Regions from separate parts of the Homo sapiens genome. Here regions 1, 3, 4, 5 and 6 are each linked to region 2. Evidence: promoter capture Hi-C in human tissues and cell types (Jung and others, 2019). All regions are on one chromosome and are shown on one strand. Each heading gives the region's core, a stretch centred on a gene start or on the middle of the fragment in contact. The rest is flanking DNA. Distances are from core to core; before and after follow the strand shown. Region 1 overlaps SRGAP1 (SLIT-ROBO Rho GTPase activating protein 1). Region 2 holds the start of C12orf56 (chromosome 12 open reading frame 56). Region 3 overlaps SRGAP1 (SLIT-ROBO Rho GTPase activating protein 1). Region 4 overlaps SRGAP1 (SLIT-ROBO Rho GTPase activating protein 1). Region 5 overlaps SRGAP1 (SLIT-ROBO Rho GTPase activating protein 1). Region 6 overlaps SRGAP1 (SLIT-ROBO Rho GTPase activating protein 1).

The links. Contacts are between HindIII fragments. The study calls those that stand out against the background at their distance.
Region 1: a fragment that was not itself captured here is called in contact with the fragment with the promoter of C12orf56 in region 2 in 1 of the 25 tissues and cell types used here (dorsolateral prefrontal cortex).
Region 3: a contact is called between a fragment that was not itself captured here and the fragment with the promoter of C12orf56 in region 2, in 1 of the 25 tissues and cell types used here (IMR-90 fibroblasts).
Region 4: a contact is called between a fragment that was not itself captured here and the fragment with the promoter of C12orf56 in region 2, in 1 of the 25 tissues and cell types used here (H1 embryonic stem cells).
Region 5: a contact is called between a fragment that was not itself captured here and the fragment with the promoter of C12orf56 in region 2, in 1 of the 25 tissues and cell types used here (pancreas).
Region 6: a contact is called between a fragment that was not itself captured here and the fragment with the promoter of C12orf56 in region 2, in 1 of the 25 tissues and cell types used here (mesendoderm cells).

What each region holds. Positions count from the first base shown.
Region 1 is chr12:63,995,177-63,998,846 of GRCh38, forward strand. The region is part of intron 3 of SRGAP1 (SLIT-ROBO Rho GTPase activating protein 1); the gene reads left to right. It overlaps LOC105369801 (a long non-coding RNA gene), which reads right to left. Exons shown (of 5, transcript XR_945023.3): 4 at 1,354-1,414; 5 at 529-609. Among named protein-coding and RNA genes, the nearest start is that of SRGAP1, 150 kb to the left of the region's middle. The HindIII fragment of the contact is 6,628 bases long and covers 1-3,670 here.
Region 2 is chr12:64,389,417-64,392,767 of GRCh38, forward strand. C12orf56 (chromosome 12 open reading frame 56) reads right to left here and starts at 1,342. Exons shown (of 13, transcript NM_001170633.2): 1 at 898-1,342. The coding sequence starts at 1,149. The HindIII fragment of the contact is 10,638 bases long and covers 1-3,351 here.
Region 3 is chr12:64,074,863-64,078,747 of GRCh38, forward strand. All of the region lies in intron 8 of SRGAP1 (SLIT-ROBO Rho GTPase activating protein 1), which reads left to right. Among named protein-coding and RNA genes, the nearest start is that of KICS2, 150 kb to the right of the region's middle. The HindIII fragment of the contact is 7,857 bases long and covers 1-3,885 here.
Region 4 is chr12:63,899,810-63,903,406 of GRCh38, forward strand. The region is part of intron 1 of SRGAP1 (SLIT-ROBO Rho GTPase activating protein 1); the gene reads left to right. Among named protein-coding and RNA genes, the nearest start is that of SRGAP1, 57 kb to the left of the region's middle. The HindIII fragment of the contact is 4,157 bases long and covers 1-3,456 here.
Region 5 is chr12:63,916,437-63,919,960 of GRCh38, forward strand. The region is part of intron 1 of SRGAP1 (SLIT-ROBO Rho GTPase activating protein 1); the gene reads left to right. Among named protein-coding and RNA genes, the nearest start is that of SRGAP1, 73 kb to the left of the region's middle. RefSeq lists an enhancer at 2,422-3,210. The HindIII fragment of the contact is 5,861 bases long and covers 1-3,524 here.
Region 6 is chr12:64,096,208-64,099,717 of GRCh38, forward strand. It overlaps SRGAP1 (SLIT-ROBO Rho GTPase activating protein 1), which reads left to right. Exons shown (of 22, transcript NM_020762.4): 15 at 1,034-1,168. LOC105369798 (a long non-coding RNA gene) reads right to left here. Exons shown (of 2, transcript XR_945018.2): 2 at 3,213-3,436. Among named protein-coding and RNA genes, the nearest start is that of KICS2, 120 kb to the right of the region's middle. The HindIII fragment of the contact is 4,186 bases long and covers 1-3,510 here.

The DNA.
Region 1 (3,670 bases), core at 34-2,533, 390 kb before region 2:
TTAATATTTTTTATCCTTCCTTGGTTTACATAAATACATGTACAATATAATTCATCTTGTTTCTTCACCAATAATGATATCTATAAGCTGCCACTTACTGAGTTTTAGCTATGTGCCAAGCACTGTACTCTACATTTTCATAAATTAGCTCACATATCCTCACAGCTGCCCAGAGAACAGGTATTATATCCACACTTCAGGGATAAGGAAACAAAATGCTCAGGAGTATAAATTGCAGCATCAGGCTGACTAGCATGTATTCTTGTCTTTGCCCGTATGTCTTAGATAGTTCATAGCTCCTATGTACTCTGTTGGTATTTTTTGGTGGTAGAGATGTCACCCAATGCATAGGGTCAGAAACTTCTGAGAAATAGGACACTATGGTTCTTGTCCTAGTCATTCTTATGAAAAGACTGAAGAATGATATTCTGGGAAGAGGCACAACATTTGTCAATCATCCAAGTTATAGGGAGGGATTCAAAGCAGCAGAAACTGGCCCAAAGCCAGTGAGAATAACCCCTCTTTGGCATAAGTCCCATAGGTTGTCAGAGTCAGACTCACAGAAATTCAGTTGACTCACTTTAGGTATTGCTGATTGTGTGGCTTAATCTGAAAGAAAGGAAAGGTTACTAGTAAGATTCATACTTATTTTTTATTTTGATCAAAGACAGCCATATTCTATTTAAATACCCCAACATGAAAAAAAAAGCAAAGATATTTTATGGAGGAGAAAAGCTGTAGTTTCAAATACACCATTTAAAATAGGTTAATATTCAAACATGTTTTAGTAGAAGTTAATAAAAGATACCACTTGACTACAGATCTCTAAGGCTCTGACCTTGTTTTTTTTTTTAAAAAAAGTACCATAAGTTAAAAGCATCTGAAAACTACCAATCTCTATATGTGAAAAAAGAACCTATTTCTCTTTGAATATAAAAATAGATATAGATTGTAGAAATTTAGAAAACGCTATAAATATAAAAAGAAATAATAATTACCCATATTAACACTAACTACTTTTAAATTTTAGGCTCTATCTTTTCACTATTTATATGTGTATACATATACTTAAATATATATGTGTATATTTTACAGAATTGAGATTTCATTCTATATGGCTTGGAAAGGTGCCATTTTCATATAGAATATTATTAGCATTTCTCACATCTGGAAATAGGCTACCTCATGACTACATAGTACTTTACTATGTGCATGGCCATGTTAGTTTTCTGTTGTTAGACATTTAAATCTATGATTTTTTTTCTTATGCTACATTTTTTGAAGTAGAATTATCAAGTCAGAGGGTGGCCTTTGAATTTTGTTAGAATTTCATGTCTTGAATTAAATTCTTACTGTTTTCTTTTCTGGAGTAATGATGGTCATGGTTGTCATGTACAAACAGGTCATATATTCGCTGAAAAATTAATTGGCTTTTATTAGCAGTAAGCTAACACATATAGTTTAGTATACTTATATAACAGTAGTAAATAATATAACAAGAAGAACTTTTCCAAAGCATTTTAGTGCAGTGTTGCAGAAGAATTAAATGGTATTCTGGTGGCCTCAAGGGGCAGCTTAATTATTGATAGGGCCTGGATAAATAAGAATAGTTCAAGCTAACACTGCTAGCTGGTTCTCTTGGGTTTTATCAACCCTATGACTAACTTTTTATTTTTTAAGAAATAAGCCAAAACTAAACTATCATTTTTTGCAATGATGTAATTTTCTGAAATATTTTAGAAAATATTTTTAATTTGTATTTATAAATTGCTTATCAGGATGGCAAGCACATAATAAATGCTCTCTGAATAGCAATTATTGGTGCTGCTGTTCTTGGAGTTACATTGTTGCTTTTATTATTTAGTAACAACAGGATATGTGTGATTGGCCTGGCTTTAACTTTAATATAACAAGAGGAAGTACTGAATTCTGAAGGCAACTGTAACACAATGGTAAGTATTTGAGTATCTAAACACAGAAAAAGGTACAATACAATTACAGTATGCAAGATAAAAAAAATGATACACCTGCATAGGGCAGCTCCATTCTAATCTTATGGGACCACCGTCATTGAGTACAATAACATGCTATACAGGTTTGTAGCCTAGGAACAGTAGATTATACCATATAGAACAGGTATATAGTAGTCTATACCATCTGGATTTGTGTAAGTACACTCTATGATGTTCACACAATGATGAAATTGCCTAATGATGCATTCCTTAGAATATGTCTCTGTGGTTAAGTAATGGCCTGCCTGTACTTGAACTCATAATTACATTGAGATAAGTGGTCAAGGAATGCTTGAAAACTTATTTTTTAGCTAAAATTAAAATCTAGAAGGGTAAATTGTTTTAAATGGATATCTCTAAGTTACTTTTATTTTCTTCTGTTTGCTTATCTGTAGTTTCTGATTTTACACAATGAACAAGTTGTATAATAAAACACACAATAAAACAGTTATTTTTTGTAAACTGAAGTCTGAAGGAAAAGTTTGGTCCAGGTATACCAGTGTTTGTTTGCTGTAAAGGAGTGGGAAAACCCTATCCAGTAAATAATTCATCCCCAAATGCTGCTTATTAATGGAGAATCTGCCTATTCTCCGGGTCCAATTGAAAATTTCACTTGGATTATGCACTCTTAAGATGGTTAAAATAGGAAGACATGAAATCAGAGGACTTCTGACTATGACGGCAGATTCTACATGGGCTCCAACCACCTTACTTCCCAAAGTATCTGTTAAATGACCAATCGAATACATAAATAGGAAAAACTAGAATAATTATTTCGACTTCAAGCAGAGCCTATCACTCTTTTGCCCAAATCTTCTAATGACTCTCACCACACTCAGAGCAAAAGTCTACATCCCCACCTCCCTTCCCCAGCTTTATTCTTCTTTATAGCACTTATCCCTTTGTGACATACTATATATTTACTTAATTATTTGTTGACTTTCTGTCCCCTCAATTCCAGTGTAAGTTCCTACGGGAAGAGACCTTCATGTTGTTCACTGAAACAATGACTGGCACAGAGTAGGTGCTCAGTAAATATTTATTGAATGAATAAGTAATGAATAAAGATTTACTTCTGCATTAGAAACCAAAGATAGTGGCATTTACATAACAGAAGTTTCAAGGCATTTCAGCAAGACCCAGCATTAGCAAGGCTATGTTTAAGCAACACTATAATGTACATCCTACTTCCTGAGAGAAAGAAATCAGAGTGGGTCCTAGTAGTAACCTACCTTCACAGGTCAGCTAGGAGGACTGATGATGCTCATCACTGGAGCATCTTCTCTGTTCTATCACAGATTGGTAGCCCTGGGACCATGGCATTAAAAAGCACCACACTTTGCTCTAAGCACCCATAGGCACCATGAAATTCACCGGAAGGTTCACATGGCACAGATTCCCACCTAACTCTCCCAACTGAAAATTGCTCTCAGGATTATTTATATTCTTTTTCATCATTCCTTGAGATATTTGGAAATCCAGTCTATAGAAAAATTACTCAAGAACTGTCACTCAAAATCAAGCTCAGCCTGCCATTTGACTCTTAAGACAATACCAGGCAAGCATGAACTTCCTTAGAGAGATAATTATGCACATACTTGCAGGAATAAGTATGAATAAACAGAGAAGAATACATAGTTCCTCTAAATACATGCTAT
Region 2 (3,351 bases), core at 92-2,591:
GAGCCGCCTGAGATTGCCAAGCGTCCTGTGCGCATCTCATTAACGCATCTGCTTATTCATGCATTTATTCTTTTGCTGGGGAGGGGGTGGAGGGGAACGGTGTCTCACTCATTCTGTAGCTCAGGCTGGAGTGCAGGTGGGGCGATCTCGGCTCACGGCAACCTCCGCCTCCCAGGTTCAAGCGATTCTTGTGCCTCAGCCTCCCAAGTAGTTGGGATTACAGGTGCACACGACCACGCCTGGGTAATTTTTGTACTTTTGGTGGAGACGGCGTTTCACCATGTTGGCCAGCCTGGTCTCGAACCCCTGACCCCCGGTGATCTATCCACCTTGGCCTCCCAAAGTGTAAGGATTATAGGCGTGATCCACGGCACCCGGCCTTATGCATTTATTCTTATTGAGCATCTAACATGCTCTAAGCATCGGGGGCAAAAAAGTAAATGAGATATAACAGCACTTAACACACAGCATTTATTTGCACGGGTGTTGGCTTTCTAGCCCTCCAGCGACTGCTTCTAGGTAGGGGCCCTCTTTCGTTTTTGCATCCTCCGAGTCTAGCACAGTGCCTGGCACTGACTAGGTGCTTTGTTAACAAAGGAATGACTTTAAAAGGTATTTTTGATAGGGAGCTCGGTTCTCAAACCTGTAGCCCTACGTGGGGTAGGGGAGGCGGGAGAATGGGTGAACAGGCAGACACGAGGAGAATGGGAGACGTGTTTGTATTAGGAGTGCTCACAGCAATCCACAGCTTCCCTGTGTTCCTCGTTCTCAAATAAGAGGAGGGGAGTCGAGGGCAGGATGGGGCAGCCCTCCCCGCGCAGGAGGGCTGGGTTTGGGGGCCCCAGCCGGGAGTTCTCACTGCGCTCCCGAGCCCGCCTGCCCACCCGCGCCGCTCACCAGGTCAATGGCCACGACGTCCCGCAGAGCCACTACCCGCCGGATGGACTTGGGCGGGTTCTCGGTTAGGTAGACGAGCCGGTCGCTTAGCACCACATACTTGAGGATGTGGTTCTCAGAGTTGGACACCACGATGCATGGCTCGTAGGCGCGGACCGCGTCGTAGACCTCGGGCGGCAGATGCCGCCGCAGGAACACATCCAGGCGGCTGTTCCTGCGCGCGGGGAAGCCGGACGGCAAGGGGCTGGCCATGCCCGGCGCCCGCAGCGTGGCGGAGTGCTGGGACTCGAGGCCCTCAGCTCGCCCTCTCCCCGCCCCCGCGCTGGAACCCGCGCGCCACAAAGCCGCCGGCCACGCGTCGCCTCCTCTCCAGGCGCGGGGACCCGGGCCGCAACTGCAGGAATCGACGCTAGGTCGGCTTCCCTGGAGCGCCCTCCCCAGCCCTGTCCAGCCTCTCGATCTTTGTCCTAACCTCAGACGGCGATGGGCGGGGCAAGACGCTGGTCCTTCAGGCCCGAGTTGATGGGCACCTCGGGCTCATCACCGTGAAGTCCCCTGCGGCCGAAGGGCGGTGGATTTTTAGGGTCTCTCCCGCCCACCCCTAATGCCAGTCCCCACCACTGCGTACTCTGTTGCGGATCACACCATCCAATACAAACTTTATTGGTAATGGAAGCCAGCTTCAATCTGGTTTCCTGTTAGAAACTTGAAAGAGTTTAATTTACCGATTTATTTTTAACAACCCTAGAAACCTATTAAACCCAATCACACAGATTTAGCTTTTGGTTATAACATGGCCTGGCACAGCTTTCTGATATTGTCGGAGTGTAAACATAGGTCTTCTTTCTCCAACCAGTGAGAAAGGGATTTTTTTTTTCTTTTCTCTTTTTTTTTTTGAGACGCAGCTTTGCTCTTGTTGCCCAGGCTGGAGTGCAATGGCGCCATCTCGGCTCACCGCAACCTCCCCCTCCCGGGTTCAAGCGATTCTCCTACCTCAGCCTCCTGAGTAGCTGGAATTACAGGCATGCGCCACCACGCCCAGCTAATTTTGTATATTTTAGTAAAAACGGGGTTTCTCCATGTTGGTCAAGCTGATCTCCAACTCCCGACCTCAGGTAATCCGCCCGCCTCGGCCTCCCAAAGTGCTGGGATTACAGGCGTTAAGTCACCTCGCCCAGCCTTTGAGAAAGGGATTCTTCACATGAATTGATGTGAGCACACCCAAACCAACCTAAGGCATATGGTTTTGTTTCCAATGCCCAGGACAATCTATGCAGGAAGAATGAATGGGTGATGCTGGCATCTTGAAAAGTTGAAGCTGATAGACTGAAGAATGCGGATTACATACCCTGAGGCTGCAGAGGAGTAAGTATTCCTTAGTTTTTACAGGCCAAGAATAACTTACTAATTAGGTTAGAGAAATGAGAAGGGCACAACAGAAATGCTCTAAGTCAGAAGTTCCATTTTTTATTTCGAATCCTAGAAAAGTTATTCTCTTCCCCTCCCCATTGACCCAAAAACCTGATAATGAAACCATATCGTTCATTGCTGTGGCTGCCAGCAACCCTGAATCAAATTTGATATATTCTTTATATTCTCCCTTTCTACATATTTTATTATTGTATACTGTATGTTATAAGCAACTTCAAATCCCTTGTGGAAAGAAGGTATAAATATATTACAATCCATAAACAGATATTGTAGACTACACTAGTACAAAGGGAAAGAGAAATGTTTTGGTCTGGCTAAACTTTTTTTTTTTTTTTTTTTTTGAGACAGAGTCTCCCTCTGTCACCCAGGCTGGAGTGCAGTGGCATGATATCGGCTCACTGCAGCCTCTGCCTCCTGGGTTCAAGCCATTCTCCTGCCACAGCCTCCCAAGTAGCTTGGACTACAGGTGTACACCACCATGCCTGGCTAATTTTTTTTCTGTGTGTATTTTTAGTAGAGACAGGATTTCACCATCTTGGCCATGGCTTGTCTCCTGACTTCAACTGATCTGCCTGCCTTGACCTCCCAAAGTGCTGGGAATACAGGCATGAACCACCGCCATGTAAGGGTCTGGCTAGACTTAAGTCTAAGATCATGTTAAGGAACTCAAGTGAGTAAAGAGAAGTGCCACCTGCTGGCAAAATCTTAAATGACCTAGTAGTTAAAGTTTTCTTAGGATCTCATCACACATCTGAGCCTTCCTAACTTCATAAATGGATGAAAAATGAATGAACTACACCATCCGTAGCAACCTTTATTGATAAAAGATGCCGCATGGCTATTTCCTCCAAAATAAAGACTACTCATTATCTAAACCACTCTAAATAGAGTTTGTTGCTTCAAACTAACAGAAAGGCAAAGGCGCTTCACCTCTGCTGAATAGCCACACCTCACAAAAGCAGTTGAAAGATGAATGACTACAATATCAGAGGTGGAAAGTGAGGCCCACATAAGGGAAAGGCC
Region 3 (3,885 bases), core at 361-2,860, 310 kb before region 2:
AATTTAGTTATGCACAAATATTTTAAATCACATTATATAAAACTTTTAATTTAGAAATACTATATTTTTCTCATTTTCACAATTTTATGAAGGCTCTTCATATATCCTGATATTGTGTTTGTCATTACCAGAGCCACATTTTGAGTCTGCCGAGACCACCTCGGTCGGGGAGACCCTAACCCAGCGGCGCTAGAGAAATTAAAGACACACGCACAGAAATATAGAGGTGTGAAGTAGGAAATCAGGGGTCTCACAGCCTTCAGAGCTGAGAGCCCCAAACAGAGATTTACCCACATATTTATTAACAGCAAGCCAGTCATTAGCATTGTTTCTATAGATATTCGATTAACTAAAAGTATCCCTTATGGGAAACGAAGGGATGGGCCGAATTAAAGGAATAGGTTGGGCTAGTTAACTGCAGCAGGAGCATGTCCTTAAGGCACAGATCGCTCATGCTATTGTTTGTGGCTTAAGAATGCCTTTAAGCAGTTTTCCGACTTGGGCGGGCCAGGTGTTCCTTGCCCTCTTGCGGTAAACCCACAACCTTCCAGTGTGGGTGTTATGGCCATCATGAACATGTCACAGTGCTGCAGGGATTTTGTTTATGGCCAGTTTTGGGGCCAGTTTATGGCCAGATTTTGGGGGGCTTGTTCCCAACAGAGTCATCAAGTACACTTTTCTCAGAGTATACCATCTTCACATCTGTTTGTTTGAAATACAGTGCTTTTAAAACCTGTGCGTGATACTGTCATTAGAAATTTGTCTACAAGCTACAAGAGCCTATTTGACTAGTGTAGGATGGTGACTCTTTTAATTCAGTCTATAGATATTTGATTATGACCTCCTTAAAGTAATTAATTACAGTATTTTTAATGGTCATTAATATGCTTTTTTTCCAACAGTATCTACTCTTTGCATTGTGCATAACCCCAGGAATGATTATTGTCTATTAAATTTCTTTCCCTTCTTTTTTTAATATTAATTCCATCACATGACCTTCTAAGCATCCAAACTAGTACTAATTGCTACTGTTTCTTTCCCAAACATTATTTTGTTCAAAAAAAAAAAAAAGTAATTGAAAAGATTTCCACTTCCTGTAATGATGGACTGGGTCACTCAACTGATTCTTTCAAAGTTCATTTTCTAGGACAAGATGCATGGCCAAGCCTGAAACCTGTGACACAGGGAACCATATCTTCCCAAAAGGAAGAGCATCCAATATTTTGAACAGTAATAAAATCCAGAGATTCTGAGCTATTAGTGCCCCTAATGGTTTGGGAAAATAAACATTCTCTTTGGAGGATAACCTCACCTTTGACCTCAAGTAACTCTACAAAAAATATCTAGCAAAGATAATTAGACAATGAGGAGATAAGAAACCATGAGTGATAGCCAGAAGAAATAATAGACAATAGAGACACACCCACAGGAACTCCAGATATTGGGATTATCAGAAATAAATGACAAAAGAACTATTTACAATGTTCAAGGAGGTTTTTAAAAGCCAAGCTTAGATTTCATCAGGAAATCATAAGCACTAAAATAACAGATTTGAAAATGAGCTACATAGGAATTCTAGCACTGAGAAATAACCAAAATTAAGAAAGCAGTGGGTGAGTTTAACATCAGGTAGAGCTAAAAAATAAATCATGAAAGCAGACAAATCAGAAGAAATAATAAAAACGCAGCATCAAAAACAAAAGATAATAAAATATGGAAAAGAAGAATAAGAGATATAGAGAACACAGTAATGTCTAATATACTAATTGAACTCCCAGAAAGAAAAAAAAATTTTTTTTTTTGAGACAGAGTCTCACTTTTTCGCCCAGGCTGGAGTGCAGTGGCACGATCTCAGCTCACTGCACCCTCTGCCTCCTGGGTTCAGGCAATTCTTCTGACTCAGCTTCCCGAGTAGCTGGATTACAGGCACATACCACCACGCCCAGCTATTTTGTATTTTTAGTAGAGACAGGGTTTCACCATATTGGCCAGGCTGGTCTCGAACTCCTGACCTCAAGCGATCCACCGCCTCAGCCTCCCAAAGTGCTGGGATTACAGGTGTGAGTCACCACGCCCCGCTCAGAAAGAAAAATTAAAGAATATAGAGTCAATATTTGAAAAGATAAAAGCTGCAAACTTACTAAAACCTATGAAAAACATCACACAAATTCAAGCAGTCCAAGAAATTCCAGGCAGAATATATTTTTTAAATCCTTACCTAGATATATTACAGTGAAATTGTAGAAACCCAAAGATGAATGGAAAATTTTTAAAGCAGCTGGAAAAAGAAAGCAGATTTTATTCAAAGCAATGACAGACTGATGGTAACCTTCTCACTCAACAGGAACATAGAAGCCACAACAAAGTACAGTGATATATTTCTAATATACAAAAAGAAAATAACTGCTGCACAGAAAAAGATATTTAGTAAATGAAGGTGAAATAAAAGACGTTGTCAAGTCAACAAAACAGACACATACTAAAAAGAACTTCTAAAGGGTACACTTAAAATATAAGCACTCGACATCAAAGAATGTAATAAATACATGGGTGATGCTAAGTGAATCTTGACTACATAAAATAATAATGTCTTAAATTTATATATTAATATTTATATATATTCTATTATAATATATTACAAAAATAGCATATAAATCAGGAGGAGTAAATGAAGTTAAGGTGTTCTAAACTCTTTACATTGTGTGACAGAAGGAAAAAGCTATCAATTTACATTATACTTTGATAAGCAAAGGTAGAATATGACCTTCAGTGAATAAAAAGACTACTAGGAGATTAATAAATAAATAAGCTCCTAACAGATAACATAAAGCAGTATCTTTATGGCTATGAGATAGGAAAATATTTCTTAAATAGGACACAAAAAACACTAAAAGGAAAGAATTGATAAATGCATTATATTAAAATTAGAATCTTTGTTCATCTGGACACTATTGAAAGAGGGAAAAACCACAGCACAGTGGGGAAAAATATTTGCAACACATACAACTACAAAAAGACTCATATCCATCTCAACAAATCATTAAGAAAAAGACTCATAACTTAGAAAATGGAGCAAGAGATTTTAACAAAGTGTTCTCAATTAAGGAGATCCAAATTGCCTTAAACATATGATAATGTGCTCAATCTCATATATCAGGGAAATGCATATTCAAACCACAGTGAGATACCACTGCACACCCAACACAATTGTTTAAATTTAAAAGAAAGACTGACAATACCAACTGTTGATGAGGATGTGGAATAGCAGGGATTCTTCCACTCTGCTGGTGAGAATGTAAATTACAATCATTTTGGAAAACAGTTAAGCAGCAATTCTATTCATATATGTGTGACTAAACAAAAATGTGTTTATAGCAGCATTATTCAAAATAGCCCACAACTAAAAAAAATCATCTATCAATAGTAAAATGGATGAATTACAGTGTATTCCTACAATGAATAGCAGTGAAATATACTCACAAGAAATGAGTGTATCTCACGTTGAGCAAAAGGAAGACAAAAATTATACATCCTGTAGGATTTCATTCATGTAAAGAGCAAGAAAGGGCAAAGCTAATATCTAATCTTAGAAGTCCAGTTAATGGAGAAGGAGAGGGTATAGGTGTATGGTAATTGGGAGAGGCACAAGCAGTCTCATAATATACTTTTTCTTGGTCTGATTGTTACTCACATAGGTGTGCTCCCTTTGTGATAATTCATCATCAAGCTGCACACTTATGGTCTGTGTATTTTTCTATGTGTAGTTTGACTTCAATTGAAAATGTTAAGACAAAAAAGTAATTGAGAGAGTACCCAGATATGAGATTTATAAGGACTGAAATATAAAGTGATAACCTCCTTAGGATGATTTTGAAGAAATCATTC
Region 4 (3,597 bases), core at 128-2,627, 490 kb before region 2:
TAAAAATCTCTATATTATATATGTTTGTAAGTTTAAATAGAAGCTATGAAGTGACTCCTTATATAATAAATGTAAGGTATCTTTGCTCCAGTGTATCTGCCTTTAGAAATAACTCACTAATAAATATGAGGCACTGAACTCGATGCAGAAGGCATGTTACTGTCAAAAAACTTTCTAGAAGCTTGATAGAGCTCTTAACAGGGTTTATTTTGGGGGAGAGCATGTAATAAATTGTAGTCTTAAACTGTTACAGATTTCCTGATACCTCCAATGGACTATTCTACCTTTAATTTGGTAAATAAATGATGTTGATGACAACAGCTTTGCAGTTATGAACTAAGCAATGCCTTATGTCTCCGTTTGCCCTTGCTTTTTTCTTTTTCTTTTTCTTTTTCTTTTTTTTTTTTTTTTTTTGAGGTGGAGCCTCGCTCTTTCACCCAGGCTGGAGTGCAGTGGCACGATCTCGGCTCACTGCAGCCTCTGCCTCCCGGGTTCAAGCGATTCTCCTGCCTCAGCCTCCTGAGTAGCTGGGACTACAGGTGCGTGCCATCACGCCCAGCTAATTTTTTGTATTTTTGGTACAGACAGAGTTTCACTGTGTTAGCCAGATAGTATCAATCTCCTGTCCTTGTGGTCCACCCGCCTCAGCCTCCCAAAGTGCTGGGATTACAGGCGTGAGCCACCTGTGCCCGGCCATGCTTTTTTCTCTAATTAAAAATAGGGCTGGGTTTGGTGGCTCACACCTGTAATCGCAGCACTTTGGGAGGATGAGGCGGGAGGATCAGATGAGGCCAGGAGTTCGAGACCAGCCTGGGCAACATGGCAAAATGCTGTCTCTACTAAAAACACAAAAAATTAGCCAGGTGTGGTGGCATGCACCTGTAGTCCCAGCTACTTGGGAGTCTGAGGCATAGAATAGCTTGAACCTGCAGGCAGAGGCTTGCAGTGAGCTGAGATCACGCCACTGCATTCCAGCCTGGGTGACAGAGCGAGACTCTTATCTCAAAAAATAAATAACAAAGAAATTATTGTTTAGGGTTTTGTACTATCAAACCTAAGTAAAAAAACAATGTATGCTAAAGAAAAGGTTTATGTATAACAGGAGTGAGCAGTAGAGGTGATAAAACACATCTCTTTGAGAATGTTTATAGATTATGACCTCTCAACCACACTTGTGCACCTATTTTTTTTTTTTTTAAATGAGAGACAGTTCTGACCTGCTGGTTTGGGTTGCTGCTATGTGGCTGTTCAGTCATTTATTTGCCAGGCATTTTGGAAACACTTATTTACTATGTGCCAGTTACTGTCCCAGGTGCTAAGAATTCAAAGGTTAATAGAATTAAGGTCCTTGCCCTGGAGAAACCTCATAGTTGCTCTTCAAAAGCAGTATTCCTAATATGGTTTGTTCTTGCTTCTCCATACTAAGAGGTGAGGAACCCCAGGGCAAATAATTTCAACACTGGATAAATCTGTAAAGAAAAAATGAGCCATTCCCAGTCCTGCACCATGTTTATGCAAGTTTATTTTCCCCAGTTCTCCAAAATGTAAAGTCTCCCTGTTGAGTTGTATTGTCTGGTCTGATTTTGGTACATGCTGAGCTCACCCCTGTCTTTCTGCCTTTATTATAGCTTGTTCCTCCTTCCCCTGTAATCTGAATTCTACTTGTGCTTTAAAGCTGAGCAAAATGTTACTTTGTCCACACACAGTGCCATTTCTTTCTGGTTGTTCCTGCTCAGCCTGAGCGCTCCATAATCTTGGCCTATCCATCATTGACGTCACAACAGGTTAGCCCTTAATCACATATTGTTTTGCACATCTTGTTTGTTTTTAGTCATACCTCCCCAACTGGATTGTCTGAGCTTTAATGGGACAAACTGCTACTAACCACAGTTTGGCCTCCCAACTTTTTGAGGAAGAAAGCTAGACTCTAGCATTTGATGGGTGGCATTTACAAATTAATGAGATTTTAAAATTAACTGGATTATCATCAAGTTTCTACCCACATGAGTAATAATCAAGCTTGAACTCTAAATTAGAATTGTTTAAGCCCTGTAGGTTGTCGAGTTTAATTTAACATCATCTTTATGCAATAAGTCACCTAACATTGTTCTTCATGAAAATTTAAACCAGGGATTGGCAGCTCACTGGACTTGGCTTGCAAGCTTGCCTTGTTTGGACTTTATAGTACTTGCAAAATCAAGACATGTTTTACAGAAATTTGGCTGGGGAGTGTGGTGGCTCACGCCTGTAATCCCAGTACTTTGGGAGGCTGAGGTGGGCGGATCGCTCGAGCTCAGGAGTTCGAAACCAGCCTGGGCAACATGGTGAAACCCCATCGCTATTAAAAAATTTATTTAAAAACATTTTACAAAAGTTGAGATCTCTAGTTTGTCTGAAATAACCTTCCCCATTCCAATGAACTGTAGGGAAAACAGCTAATTTTCAAAGAGCCATGAAAAAGGCAAGTAACAACAAGATTTATTGAATGTTTACTATGTTCTAGACACTATTCCAAGAACAGTATTAACCCTCACAGTATTTCTAGTAGGTAGATACTATTATTAAACTTATTTTATAGATGAGGAAGCTGAAGCTCAAAGAGATTAATCAACTTAATCTCCAGGGTGTTTCAGGGTCACAATTTGTAATTTGTGGAATGGAGATCCAACCTAAGCAGAAAGCAGACTAACCACAGTTACCCATAATCATGCTTTTACTGCCTATTCAGAGAGACTGGAGGCATCTGTTCAAAAGTCTTCCCTAAAATGATGGACTAGATTTGGTTATAAAGTAACTAAATCCATTTTAATATGTGCAAGTGGAACAGTTGCTTATTTTTCTATTTCCTCAGTTTGCAGTTAACTTAATTCTAAACTTTGAAACAAAATGACAGCTGCATGAAGAGACCTGCACAATCCAATTGCTTAAAATTAGTTTGCTTGCTTATTATTATTTTGATTAAAGACTTACTATTTTTGTCACATTTGCTCATTTCCTAGGGTTATAGCAACCTCAGTCTTCCTAAACTGAACTGATCTTTGTTTTCTCTGGATTCTGTCTGTACTTTTCATTTGGTCATTCCATCATATCTTTTGTTTTAGTCTTGACCTCCCAATTAGATTGTAAACAGTTTAAGAATAGCACAATTCTTTATTTCTCATCTATGTATAATGTAACAGAACATTTAGAACAATTTTTACAAAGTTGGTTTTTACAGGTACTGTATGTCTGAAATGATACTAGGATTAAACTATTATATATATATATATAAAGTGTGTGTGTATGTGTGTTTGTGTGAACTATTATTTGGGAAAATTTTAAGCACGCTTTCAAGTAGAGAGACTAGTACAATGAATCCACATGCACTCATACTCAGCTTCAACTAATGTGTTTTTTGTTGTTGTGTCTTGTTTTGTTTTGTTGAAATGGAGTATCACTCTGTCACCAGGCTGGTGTGCAGTGGCATGATCTCTGCTCACTGCAACCTCCAGCTCCTGGGTTCAGGTGATCCTTCTGCCTCAGCCTCCTAAGTAGCTGGGATTGGCGTGCGCTAATTTACAATTTGCAAATTGTAAATTTGTATTGTATTACAAATAC
Region 5 (3,524 bases), core at 589-3,088, 470 kb before region 2:
CCTTAGTTCATTCAGTTAGTAAACATTTATTACTTGTCTGCAGCAGCTCAGCCAGCTCTATACCAGACGCTGGGAAAACAAATGTCATCCGTGGTCTTGAGATGCTAAAAGTTTAAAGGGGAGATGGACAAAATAACTAAAACTGAAAGCAGTAATTACATACTGTAGGAAATGTGTGCAGAGTGTTCTAAGCATAGAGGGGCTGGAGGGAAATGACGGGGAACATTTGAATCAGGAAGAAATTCCAGAGGAAGTTGTGACTATGCTGAAAGCTGAGAAGGGGCATAAGGTGCCTAGGATGATATAAAAGTCATGAGATTTAAGAAAGGTCTGGGAATCGCATGCAGGCCAGTAGACTTAATGAGAAGTAGTTAGGGTGTGAAATGTGACAAAAATTAAGTACTCTTCTGCTCCACCCTCTATCCATTTATTTCTCCTTGATTAATTTTGGGGAAGTTGTGGTTTGGATCTGAGAGGAGAGTGTGCCATTTGATCAAAACCACGAGGCCAGATCATTTTCCAGTACCACCAAGGATCATTTGGCATGGGCTGCTGATTTCTGCTGTGGTCTCACCTTGCTCAGCAAGGTCAGATTGCATATAGATTTCATGTGTTCACTTTAAGGAATCTCACTTGTGAGATTTAGTCATATTGCAAGCTTTATATCTACCCCATGGGATATAACATATGGGATATGCTATTTAATGGCAGTTATGCAGATTAAATGAGCAAATATATGTACAACACTAATAATAAATACTGCCTGATACATAGTAAACACCGTATAAAGCGTTATTATTGTTATGATGAGTAATTATTATTCATCTGGGATTCTCCTGAGTCGTCGGAACCCCTGGGCTGTCCTTTGGACCTGGAGCCTGAGCAGAACTGGAAAAGACTCCCAGAAAGACCTAGGGCTCTCTAAGACAGTATGGTCCATTAGAGGTATGGATGCCTGGGTCTTGGCTAGAGTCCAGGGTGGAAAATATAGGTCAGTTCACTGAAAAGTTCATTTTTATTGTGAGTGTGTTGGGAGCAATGTGAGTCAACAGCACTGCGCAGTTGCTCCTTTTGAATTTGCTACCATAATTTTTGGAAGGGACTGCATGGGCTTCACAGCAGCGAAGGCCCTGGGTTTTACTACTATAAAATAAGTCATCATCTAGGATGTGAAAGAGCTTGCTTTCTGTTTTGTTTTAAAAGGATATATTATAGCTGATAGTGCAAATCTACTCTTAAGAATTTCTAATTACTATTTGAATATGGTCTCTATTTCAGAACCTGCTTAGGCCCAAATTTGAAAACAGTTTATAATGAACCTGCTTTCTGTAATTCTTGTACACACCAATTTCCCACCCTGCTTTCTGTAATTCTTGTACACACCAATTTCCCACGCTAGCTGTGAGAAGTTCATGGGATGATGTGTCTGTGTTGTTTATCCTACAGAAAACCGTGAATAAATGGCTGTTATTTTTGCTATTCTCGTCTTGCTGATTTCCTATGCTAGTGGCTAGCACAAATGCAAGATTATATTGTGCCATACTCACTGGAAGTTTGGTGGCTACAAGATTTCCCTAGCACATGGCCTTAGTCTGAGCAAACTGTAGCAACAACTATAGGATGCCCAATTGGTTCACATTTTAAAATTGGGTGTGGACAAAATCAGTCATAGTAAAACTGCGTAAAGAATGCAGATTGCTCAAAGCTATGTCCTTGAGCAATAAAAAGCCGCTTTTTATGAGGAAATTACACTGTCGTTGTGCAAGAATAATATTGTGCTGGACAAAGTGCTAAATTCTTTTTTTAATCATCACAACCCCTCCTCCCCCCATTACCCTGTTTTAGAGATGAGAAAACGGAAACCCAGTGAAGTTAAGCAACTCATTCAAGGTCACCCAGCTAAGAAGACTAATGAGAGCCTTGATTTGAACCTGGAAGTGTCTGACTTCAGGGTTCATGAACTAAGCCTTTTATGCTCTATTGCTTTCTCTCTTTTTTTAAGACAAGCCTCACTCTGTCACCCAGGTTGGAGTGCAGTAGTGCAGTCATGGTTCACTGCAGCCTCTGCCTCCCAGGCTCAAGTGACCCTCCCACATCAGTCTCCTGAGTAGCTGGAACTACAGTCATGTGCCACCATGCCCAGTTAATTTGTGTATTTTTTGTAGAGATGAAGTTTTACCATGTTGCCCCAGCTGGTCTCGAATCCCTGGGCTCAAGCAATCTGCCTACCTCGGTCTCCTAAAGTGCTGGGATTACAGGCGTGAGCCGTTGCACCAGCCAGTGCTCTATTGCTTTGTTTGCACTATCTAGGCCATTTGTTCATCCATTTATTCATTTATTCCATAAATATTTATTGTATATGCCGAGTACTCTTCTAGGCCTGGAAATACTGTGGTGAACAAGAATGTCAAAGACTCCACAGTTAGGGAGTTTGCATTCTAATGGGAGAGACTTAAAATAAACAAGGAAATGAGTGCATGAGTGTGAGTCAGTGTGTATGTATATATTCTTTGGGGAGTGACGTGTGCTATAAAGACAAATGAAGTTCAGAGAAGAGGTATGTTAGTTATTTCGTATTTTGGTTTTTTTGGGGAGGGGTGTTTTTTGTGTTTTTGTTTGTTTAGTTGGTTTTTAGAGACAGGATCTTGCTCTGTGGTGCAGGCTGGAGTGCAGTGGTGTAATCTCAGCTCACTGCAACCTCCGCCTCACGGATTGGAGTGATTCTCCCACCTCAGTCTCCTGGGACTGGAAGCTGGGACTACAGGCACACACCACTATGCCTGGCTACTTTCTGTATTTTTTGTAGAGACAGGGTTTCGCCATGTTGCCCAGGCTGATCTGGAACTCCTGGGCTCAAGTGATCCACCTGCCTTGGCCTCCCAAGGTGCTGTGATTACAGGTGTGAGCCACCATGCCTAGCCAATATTTTAATCGTTTTAACTTAACATTTAATATATATTTGTATATTAATGATCCACCTGCCTTGGCCTACCAAAGTGCTGGGATTACAGGTGTAAGCCACTGTGCCTGGCCAATATTTTAATTGTTTTAACTTAACATTACATATATATATATATATATATATACACATACACACACACACAACTATGTTTGAAAATTATAAAGGATAACAGTGTCATATGTATGACTTACCACCTAATCTACAAACAAAAGCCCTGCCAATTCTGTCGCACTTATCTGTGCTCTGCCCCATCCCATATACCTGCCTATCTTTTGAAGCAACTACTTCCTAATTTTTTTCTTTCTCTTGCCTTTTTTTAAAAAATGTTATTTATCCCTTAAAAATATGCTCATAAGTACTATACAGCTAATTTTGCTTGTTTGTTTTGATTTGTAAAAATAGTATAACTGTTTGACATTGTTGCATGTAGCTGTAGTTCATTCATTTTAAAAGCTGAATTATGTGTTGTTGGGTGAGTATGCAGAATCAATTGATTCATTGCCCTGTTGGTGGATATTTGGATTGTTTCCAGCTTTCTGCTATTTGAACAATGTTGCTGAAC
Region 6 (3,510 bases), core at 495-2,994, 290 kb before region 2:
GTGATCTGCTTGGGTGAGGCTTTCTCACAGTGGGCAAAAATAATAGTAATTATTATATTCTGATAAATTCATGTTCAGTGATTTCTTGCCCTAGGAACAGAGAAAAGAGAACAACAGATCCCTAAAAATAAATTGCCCTAAGAAGCAAAAAAATACGTTAAAATGCAATGCACACTTTTTGTGAACTTTAGAAGAGAAGCATAAAACTGTAAATAAAAAACAGAATTTGATTTAAGGTTGTATTTTATGTTGAACTTCTTAAGGATTTTATCTCTAGAGGAACAATAACCAGACTTGTTGCCTAATAATTTAATTTAGTTCTCAGAAAGAAACGCTCACCAGACTAGTTGCCTAATATTTTAAAGTTGTTTACCATAAAAAAAATAATTTTATATTTGTGATATATTTTTTAAATTCCCACTTTTTATACAAACTCCTTGGTAACATGAAAGGTACATTTTCAAGTTCCTCTATCTGATTTTAGAGTCTGCCTCTGCTCAAGACAGCCTTCAGATGTGCTGTGAACACCACCATGCCACTTTGGGAAATACCTACTTATTTAATTGTAGGTGTTCACAATTCAGTGGCACCTATGACATTTCTGATAAATTTTGCTGACCCATATAGCATAGTCAGACAGACCTATGGTGTGTCTTTTTCCCAGTAGGGTAAGAAACACAGGATGTAGTGTTTGAATTCATGTCAAACTAAGATTACAGATTTCAGCTTAAAAAAAGTGGGGGTTGGGTAAAATTATAAATTCCACAATATTTTATTTTAAGATTTGAGTAACTTGTAAGGGATTATTTAGTAGCATAAGATTTTAAAAGCTTTATTTTAGTCAACTGTTTTTAGGTTAATCATGGGGTGGGATATCTAAACCAATTATTTTAATTTTAGTACCATATAATCTTTCATAAAGCATAATTAAAAGATACATGTATATATAGCAACGTGTATGTTCATAGAAATATATTTTTGTTCAGAGAAAAAGAAGCACTGTTAATGTAATGAGTTTTTTTTTTTTTTTTAGGTGAAAATCCTTTGGCTGATGACCAGAGTAACCATGATATTAACTCAGTTGCTGGCGTTCTGAAGCTCTATTTCCGTGGGCTGGAAAACCCCCTCTTTCCTAAGGAAAGATTTAACGATCTGATTTCTTGTATCAGTAAGTGGACATTTTTTTCATCTTTTCCCACAAGAATTATTTCACTAGCTAACTTCCTGGAAAAGGCAGTGGCCCCCCTCCATACACCCCCACCCCCATTACCCCATTACCACCATATTTCTGGGACCATTTGTTTTCTTTCTGGATCCAGTGCGAGTCATCCTCCCAGCTGTGGCCTCACCCTCGGCTGAGTGGGCTTTCCTCCTGAACATCCTCTGGCTCCAGAAAGCCAGGAGCTTCCCACTCATGGCTGGAATTGAGCAGAAAGCCAGGTGCCAGCTGCCTAAGGGAAAGGAGGAAGTTGTAAGCTGGGAAATGTGACCTTTTCTTGGCTTTTGATTCTTGGTTTTTCTCAACCAATTTTAGGAGTGGGGTAATTTATCCATCTTTCAATGTTATTTCAAGAAATGGATAAAATGAAATCAAAGATCCTTATTACAGTGCAGGAACACCAGGTGGTAATTATCTGTCAGTGGGCAACCCAAGCTAATAGGCAGAGTTGCTCTGGGATTGTGTATGACATATTATGAAACCGATAATCATTGGCAAAGTAAAGCATTGCTGTTTACTTCAGTGGGGGCTTTTTGACACTATACAAAGGAAGGTGAAAATAATGATACCATGAATTAATTATTAGCCACAATCAAGATCCATGCATCTAAAAATACAGTGTCCCTTTTAAGTCCGAGTTCCCAGCAAGAGTCTAGAGCTGACTTCAATCACTTAGGCTTCATAAGAATCAACTTTTTACTCTTAATAAAGAAATCTCCGTACAGTCCCTCCACCCCCCATCTGAATCAACAAGTCCTATTGATCTGCCCTCAAAAAAAACATCTCACTACTCATCCCTCCTTCCCCATCCCCATCACCTTGGTTTCTCACTGGGGATAGTTAGAGTGTCTTAAATGGACTCTACTTCTAGATTTTGCCTTCTTTTCCCAACCCCTACCCCCTGGCCCTGCATTCTCACACTGCAGCTAGAGTTAAAAAAAAAAAAAAAACTGGGTTGCTTGCTTTCTCCCCTTTTTAAAACCTATTTCAATATAAAAGCAAACTCCCCAAGGTGGGCTTATTGCTTGGTCTCCATTAGTTTGAGACCAGCCTGGGCAACATGGCAAAACCCCATCTCTACTAAAAATAAAAAATTAGCCAGGCATGGTGGCATGCACCTGGATTCCCAGCTTCTTGGGAGGCTGAAGCAGGAGGATCACTTGAGTCTGGCAGGCAGAGATTGCAGTGAGCCAAGATCGTGCCACTGCACTCCAGCCTCGGTGACAGAGCAAGACTCTGTCTCAAAAAAAAATAAAAAAATAAAAAAGCTAACTCCATGGCATGGCCAATTCATATAATTGAATTATTCCTCTCTCTGATCTCTGCTACTGCTGCACAGCCCTCTCCTGCTACCCTACCATATTTACTGTATATTTCAGCAGTAGCAGACTGTACATATGCTGGGCCATTTCCCACCTCCATCCACTTGCCTATGCTGTTTCCTCAGCTGTCCATGATAACCATTCAACATCTGCTGTGAAGGCTTTGCCAAATTGGCATTCCTCCCACAACTCTGTCCTCCCCACCACTCCAACCAGGATTAATCACTTTCTCCTCTCCCATTATTCTATTGGGTACGTATGTCCAGAATTTTTCTGATCTCCCCGCATTATAATTTTTTTAACCCCTCTGTCTCCTACTACTAGAAAATGAGTTTAGGCAGTAGGTTAAGAATAGAGGCTCTGGATTCAAAGAGCCTACTTCAGATCCTAGCTCTGTCACATACTCATCAGCTGTGTGACCTTAGTCAGGTTTCTTAAGCTCTCTGCATCTCAGTTTCCTCACCTATAAAATAGGGGGAACATTAATCCTTACATCATAGGGTTGTGAGAATTTAGTGAGTTAATATGTGTAAAATGCCAAGAAGAGTGCCTGGCACAGAATATGCTCAATGGAGTGCCCACAGTTAGCTCCACAGGCTTGTGGAGTAGTTTTGCAGCCCTAACATTTGTCCACTCCCGAAGGTTAGGAATTAGTTAATTCCTGGAGCATGTTAAGTTAAATAGAATTTATAGATGAAATGAATTGAAAAGTCAAGATTCCACCACGAGTTCTTTGTCTGGCATCAGTGCCTAGAGTCTTGGCTCCAGTTGGGTATGAATTTCCCGGTCATAATCCTCCCCAGTCTGATGTCCCATTGGAATTTAGAAGTACAGCTGCACGTCCATTCCACGGCCCTTGCGTAGCCTGAGTCATCACAATGAACCTCTGACCCAGCTGGAAAGAAATGAAAAGGAGGTGTTTCACTTCTGGAATTCTCCTTTGGCCATGTCCAAAGATTTCCCTCACAT